Regions from separate parts of the Homo sapiens genome. Here region 2 is linked to region 1. Evidence: promoter capture Hi-C in human tissues and cell types (Jung and others, 2019). All regions are on one chromosome and are shown on one strand. Each heading gives the region's core, a stretch centred on a gene start or on the middle of the fragment in contact. The rest is flanking DNA. Distances are from core to core; before and after follow the strand shown.

Evidence for each region. Contacts are between HindIII fragments. The study calls those that stand out against the background at their distance.
Region 2: a contact is called between a fragment that was not itself captured here and the fragment with the promoter of RFPL1 in region 1, in 3 of the 25 tissues and cell types used here (lymphoblastoid cells, neural progenitor cells and spleen).

What each region holds. Positions count from the first base shown.
Region 1 is chr22:29,436,840-29,440,403 of GRCh38, reverse strand. RFPL1 (ret finger protein like 1) reads right to left here and starts at 1,821. Exons shown (of 2, transcript NM_021026.2): 1 at 1,240-1,821. The coding sequence starts at 1,612. RFPL1S (RFPL1 antisense RNA 1) reads left to right here. Exons shown (of 1, transcript NR_002727.2): 1 at 1-3,389. The HindIII fragment of the contact is 25,280 bases long and covers 1-3,564 here.
Region 2 is chr22:29,500,768-29,504,331 of GRCh38, reverse strand. No RefSeq gene overlaps it. Among named protein-coding and RNA genes, the nearest start is that of NEFH, 22 kb to the right of the region's middle. The HindIII fragment of the contact is 4,153 bases long and covers 1-3,564 here.

The DNA.
Region 1 (3,564 bases), core at 572-3,071:
AAAAAATCTACAGAACATATGATCCTTCAAGTCAAAAAACTGATGATCACCAATATAGATTTTATAGATTACAGTAAGACTTGAGGAGACTGATTGCTGTTTGATGGTGAATTAGGGAATGAAATGAGATGAGTGGACATGGACAAGGAAGGAGGAAGAGGGTTCCAAACATGACTTAGGCAGGGTGAATCTGTCCTCCATATTTCAGCAGAGACACAGTCAGGTATGGGTAGGTGGATGAGTAGAGATCATGGGTGTCAGGGCAGAAGCCACCACCATTTATAGGTGTAATTCTTTGCCCAGGCTGACCATAACCTCTTCATTTAAATGTCCCTATTCCCCAGAGTTATGGAGAGTGATAGTATTTTCTGTAGCCAGGACCCCTGTTGAAGTCCATGGCACACCGATGAGGAGACCAGCGTCTGCAACTCGCCCCACTCACAGAAACAAACACCATAGGTGCTCCATTCCAAACTCTTCCCAACCCTGGGGTGAGGTTGTTTGGTACAGTGGGTGCCAATACTCACTGTGCATTAGAATTACCAGGCCCATTTAAATGTCAGAGTCCTGGGAACCTTTGCTAGAGAGAAATTCAAATTAAGTTGCTCTGTGTTTTTGCTACTCAGCAAAGTCCCCAAGCCAGCGGGATCAATCCTGAGACTTCCCAGTTCAGCATCTGCATTTTAACAAGATCCCCAGGTAATCTGAGCACACTAAGTTTAGAGAATCCCTTGTCTAACCCATGACATAGACATCAGGTTTTTTTTTTTGAGACGGAGTCTCACTCTGTCACCCAGGCTGGAGTGCAGTGGTGCAATCTTGGCTCACTGCAAGCTCCGCCCCCCCCAGGTTAACGCCATTCTCCTGCCTCAACCCCCAAGTAGCTGGGACTACAGGCACCCACCACCAAGCCTGGCTAATTTTTTGTATTTTTAGTAGAGACAGGGTTTCACCGTGTTATCCAGGATGGTCCCGATCTCCTGACCTCGTGATCCACCCGCCTCGGCCTCCCAAAGTGCTGACATTACAGGCATGAGCCACCATGCCCAGCCAGCCTTTTTTTTGGAGATCACCAGGTGATTCTGTATGTTGTCAGGGCTGAGAATCTGATGATGAAGAAGCATCTCAATTTTAGGTGCCAGACAGCAGCTAATCCCCATATGGAATGAGGGGCCAGTTGCACAGATGATTTTTCCTGGTCTGGTCGTAGGAAGGGGGCAGTGTATACAGATCCCTCACCTTGGAACTTCCGCATCCTTGGGTTCATCTGCAGAATCTTCTTCAGCTTGGGCTCCAGTTCCTTGATGTGGGAAGCCAGCCTCTCTAGCTGCCAACTGGGCCTGATTTTGTTCTTCTGAGAGACCATGGAACAGCAACAGCAAAGTAGATCCTCCCCATGGGGCTCCTTCTGCAGTGAATTGATGCACTTGAAGCAGACAGCGCATCCACACTCCAGGGACATTGGTTTCTCTAGATAGTCTGAGCAGACGGGACAGCTGCTTGCTTCTTGGAAGAGTGCAGCCATGTCCACTGCCAGGGGAAAAGTGCACAAGGGAAGAAAATTTCCGTGAGGTGAAAGCCTGTTAGTTGTGACAAGTGACAACCTTTTCATGCATAAAGGTATTGTGTCCCAGCTTTGTCACTTCTAGAACAAGACCATGAGTACAAACACTCAAGCACATCCCCCCACCCCCCGTCTTCAGAGATTTGAAGTTCTATTGGGAAAGAAAGTCACGAATCATCACTGTGCTCTGAACTGAGGTGGAGGAAGGGTCCATTCTACTGGTGACCCAGCAACTGAGCCTGAGCCAGTGACACGGCAGCACCCATGTGAGGAACAGCGAGCTGGGGTCATTTCACCTCCTCCTAGGGGAACCCCAGCAAGAGATTGATTGATGAACATAAGAATTAGGGGCTGGGAGGCCGGGCGTGGTGGCTCAGGCCTATAATCCCAGCACTTTGGGAGGCTGACGTGAGTGGATCATCTGAGGTCGTCAAAAGTTCGAGACCAGCCTGATGGGTGAAACCCCATCTCTACTGAAAATACAAAAGAATTAGCCAGGCGTGGTGGCACACGCCTGTAATCCCAGATACTTGGGAGGCTGAGGCAGGAGAATTGCTTGAACCTGGGAGGCAAAGGTTGCAGTGAGCCAAGATCCAGCCATTGCACTCCGGCCTGGACAACAGAGTGAGACACCATCTCAAAAAAAAAAAAAAAAAAAAAGAGAGGGACTGGATGCAGTAGCTCACATCTGTAATCCCAGCACTTTGCGAGGCCAAGGCTGGAAGATCCCTTGAGCCAAGGAGTTTGAGATCAGCCTGGGCAACACAGGAAGACCCCCTCTCTACAAATAATAGAAAAATTAGCAGTGAGCAGAGATCACACCAGGTCACTCCAACCTGGACAACAGAGTTAAGACCCTGTCTCACCAAAAAAAAAAAAAAAAAAATCACATCCTTCTCCAGCCTTGGAAATGAATACCAAATTGACTGCCACCACTCCTAGACTGGAGATCTGGGGATCCAGGGTGACTGGTTTTCAACTCTGAGGCAGCACTCAGACAGCCTTTGTTGAATTCATTAATTACGAATTTCTCTCATTCATCCCCCAAGGCATAACCCCCATTTCTAGGCATCTAAGGAGGAAAAACACACACACAGGCATGGGCTCACCTCTTCTGCTGGAAGCTCCTCTGTCCTCCAGCTGCTTCCACTGGGCGCTCAGGTCTTGTGCGGAAGGGGCACATGAGGGCGTTTTATTGGTGAGATTCCCACCTCCCACTGGGTCATGCCCTTCCACACCCTCTAACCTAATGAGGCTTTGATTTAATTATAACAGGGAATTAGGTTTTTACTGGTGATATATCTCCAGTTAATTGTAACTTTAGTAAATCCTTCATCCTGACAGTGTATTTTTCTTTCATATGAAGATAAGATTAAATTGCCTTTATATTAAATTAGGCTTAATGTACTAACTTCAAAAGCTTATTTTAGAGATGTTTCCATCAGTTGTCAGTAAAGATAATTCCTGTAATATGTTGTAGGCTTCAAGCTTTGCTTGGAAACCTGAAGTATTAAGTATGATTGGATTTGCAATTTTACAAAATGGTTTAAATTCATATACATCAGACTCAAAGGTAATAGGGGCATGCATTCCATTGAGGAAATTCTAGGGAATTTTTATTTATTTTCATTGGTTTATTTCTGGTTTTGAAAAAATTTCATAATTCATAGGAAAAAATTGGATAATTACTATTTTGACAAATGACCATTAAGCTTCTTGGACCTTGAGTACTTCACACAGTGTTAAGATAAAAGTCACAATTTAAAAAAAAAAGATGATTTTCTTGTGAAACTTGTGTTCTCAAATAAAAATTGTTACCCGTGAAGTGAGTTGTGCTTTCTTCCATTTGAATCAACCCCGAATCTTTTCATTTTCATGCCTTTCTGTGTAGTGGGATCTTTACTGCTTTGTTTTCAAATTTCAAATAATTTGAATATAATCTTATCATTTTCCCTATTCCCTTTGGCACATATTAAAGGAATTTTCTCTTTTTGCATAAT
Region 2 (3,564 bases), core at 356-2,855, 64 kb before region 1:
GCCTGGGACTTTGTCCCAGGCGGCATCCCCCTGGTCTGTCCACCTTCAGGCCTTGTGTCTCACCGCCTGTGCTGAATAAGATTGAAATAGAGCCTAAAAATAGTTTAATGGCCCCTGCATTGCAGCCTGCACTTCTCTGTTCTTGGCTGGAAGGCAGCCAAACTGACTCAGCACAAAAGCTCATCTCCAGAAGCCGGGACAAGATTTCAAAGAGGGCTTGTGAGGGCTGGGAAGAGGCTTTGCTTCTTAGACAGGGGATATCAGAGCCTGTCACCCTCCAGAAGAGATTTTCCCTTTCCAGAGAAGCAGACTGAACAAAAGAATCCCTTGGCTTTAAGGAGGATTTTAAAACAAGCGAGAAGCCCAGGTCAATCCCTCCCCTGTGAGCTACTTAGCCATTCATGCCAAGGGTGGGCAGATTAGGGGGAAAGGGACTGGCTTGGGAGGACCTAGAAGCTTCCTCCTCAGCTGGAATTGTCCACGGACTTTTGGCAGATTATACTCTGGGGCATATCGCAGACCGCAGCCCATCTGTCGCTCTCTTGTACCTGGGACTCAGCCTGTGTTCCTTGCTTTTTTTTTTTTCCCCTTTACAATTTTTTTAAAACATTTTTTTTTCTTTTGTAGAGACAAGGTCTTGCTATGTTGCCCAGGCTAGTCTTGAACTCCTGGCCTCAAGCAATCTTCCCACCTCGGCCTCCCAAAGTGCTAGGATTACAGGCGTGAACCCACCATGTCAGGCCTGTTCCTTGCCTTTTTAAAGCTGCCGTCCACATTCCTGATTTATTGGTATCTTCTAGTTTCTCCCTTATTTTCTTCCTAGCTTATCCCTTACTATTTTCTCTGCAAATAACTCCACAGACTCTTTTCATAAACTTAAGGGTGTTCTTGCTGATCACTCCGCAAAGCTAAGCAAAACTCTATCCCTAGGAAGGAGCAGGGCTGCCAGACTTCCAAAGGAACTTTGTCCCTGTCGGTGTAGCCGACTCTGTCCTTTCTATGGCGTTCAGCAGTGTCTCTGATGAGAATAGGCATTAAGCATCTATTTTGGGTCAGGCCCTGTGCTAATCACACTTTTACATTCACTGTCCTATTTAAATGAAACTTAGTGTATAAGTCTTTTGCCTCCTTGGTTAAATTTATCCCTAGGTATTTTATTATTTTTGATACTATTATAAATAGAATTATTTTCTTAATTTCTTTTTCTGATTGTTCATTGTTGGTGAGTAGACATACAATTGTTCTTTGTGTGTTGACTTTGTCCCCTGCTGCTTTACTGAATTCATTTATTAACTCTAGTAATTAAAAAAAACTTTTCTGCCAGTCTGGGCAATATAGTGAAGCCCTGTCTATACAAAAATAAGATTTAAAAATTAGCCAGGCATGGTGGCGCATAATTGTAGTCCCAGCTACTCAGAAGGCAAAGGCAGGAGGATCACATGAGCCCAGAAGTTGGAAGCTACAGTGAGCTATGATCACACAGGTGCACTCCAGTCTTGGGGACAAAGTGAGACCTTGGTCTCTAAATAAATAAATAAATAAAAGGGTTTACTGTGGATTATTTGGGATTTTCTATATATGTGATAATGTCATCTGCAAATAGAGATCGTTCTATTTCTTCCTTTCCAATTTGGATGCCTTTTCTTTTTCTTGCCTAATTTCTCTGGCTAGGACTGCCAGTACTGTGTTGAATACAACTGTGAAAGTGGGCATCTCTGTCTTGTTCCTGATCTTAGGGGAAAAGCTTTCAGCTTTTCACCATTGGTTTTGTGTTTTTTGTTTTAGATACAGGGTTTTGCTCTGTCACCCAGGCTGGAGTGCAGTGGTGCAATCAAAGCTCACTGCAGCCTTCAACTCCAGGGCTCAAGCAATTCTCCCACCTCAGCCTCCCATGTACCTGGAAATACAGGTGTGAGCCATCGTGCCCAGCTCCCCTTCATTCTTTAAGGCAAGGTAGTGTACTACATTAATTGATTTTCTTTCCTTTTTTTTTTTTTGAGACGGATTCTCGCTCTTTCACCCAGGCTGGACTCAGTGGCGCTATCTCGGCTCACTGCACGCTCCGCCTCCCGGGTTCACTCCATTCTCCTGCCTCAGCCTCCCGAGTAGCTGGGACTACAGACGCCCGCTACCATGCCCGGCTAATTTTTTGTATTTTCAATAGAGACAGTTTCACCGTGTTAGCCAGGATGGTCTCGATCTCCTGACCTCATGATCCACCTGCCTCAGCCTCCCAAAGTGCTGGGATTACAGGCGTGAGCCACTGCGCCCAGCCGATTTTCTTTTCTTTTCTTTTCTTTTTTTTTTTTTGAGACAGAGTCTCACTCTGTCGCCCAAGCTGGAGTGCAGTGGTGCAGTCTTGGCTCACTGCAACCTCTGCCTCCCAGGTTCAAGCGATTCTCCTGCTTCAGCCTCCCGAGTAACTGGGACTAGAAGTACTCGCCCCACCATGCCTGGCTAATTTTTGCTTGCTATTTATTTATTTATTTTATTTATTTATTTTTTTTGAGATGAAGTCTCCCACTGTCGCCAGGCTGGATTGTGCAGTGGCACAAACTCAGCTCACTGCAACCTCCGTCTCCCGGGTTCAAGCGATTCTCCTGCCTCAGCCCCCCGAGTAGCTGGGATTACAGGCGCGTGCCACCACACCCAGCTAATTTTTGTATTTTTAGTAGAGATGGGGTTTCCCCATGTTGGCCAGGATGGTCTTGACCTTGTGATCCGCCCACCTTGGCCTCCCAAAGTGCTGGGATTACAGGCATGAGCCACTGCGCCCAGACTGAATTTTTTTTTTTTTTTTTTGAGACAGTTTCACTCTTGTTGTCCAGGCTAGAGTGTAATGGAGTGACCTTGGCTCACTGCAACCTCCGCCTCCTAGGTTCAAGCGATTCTTCTGCCTCAGCCTCCCAAGTAGTTGGGATTACAGGCACGTGCCACCATGCCTGGCTAATTTTTGTATTTTTAGTAGAGACGGGGTTTCACCGTGTTGGCCAGGCTGGTCTTGATCTCCTGACCTTGTGATCCACCTGCCTTGGCCTCCCGAAGTTCTGGGATTACAAGTGTGAGCCACCCCACTTGGCCAGATTTTCTCATTTTTCTTGAGTCAGTTTCAGTAGTTTTTATATTTCTAGGAATTTATGCATTTAATCTAAATTATTGAATTAGTGGACATACGGTTGTTCACAGTATTGCCTTATAATTCCTTTTATTTCTGTAAGGTTGGCATTAATGCCTTCTCTTTTATTCTTGATTTTAGTAATTTGAGTCTTTTCTTCTTTTATCTTAGTCAGTCTAGCTAAAGGTTTGTGAATTTTGTTGGTCTTTTTAGGACCTTTTTTTTTTTTTTTTTTTGAGACAGAGTTTCACTCTTGTCATCCAGGCTGGAGTGCAATCTTGGCTCACTGCAACCTCCGCCTCCCGGGTTCAAACAATTCTCCTGCCTCAGCCTCCCAAGTAGCTGGGATTACAGGCGCTCGCCACCATGCCTGGCTAATTTTTGTATTTTTAGTAGAGATGGAGTTTCACCATGTTGGCCAGGCTGGTCTCGAACTCCTGACCTCAGGT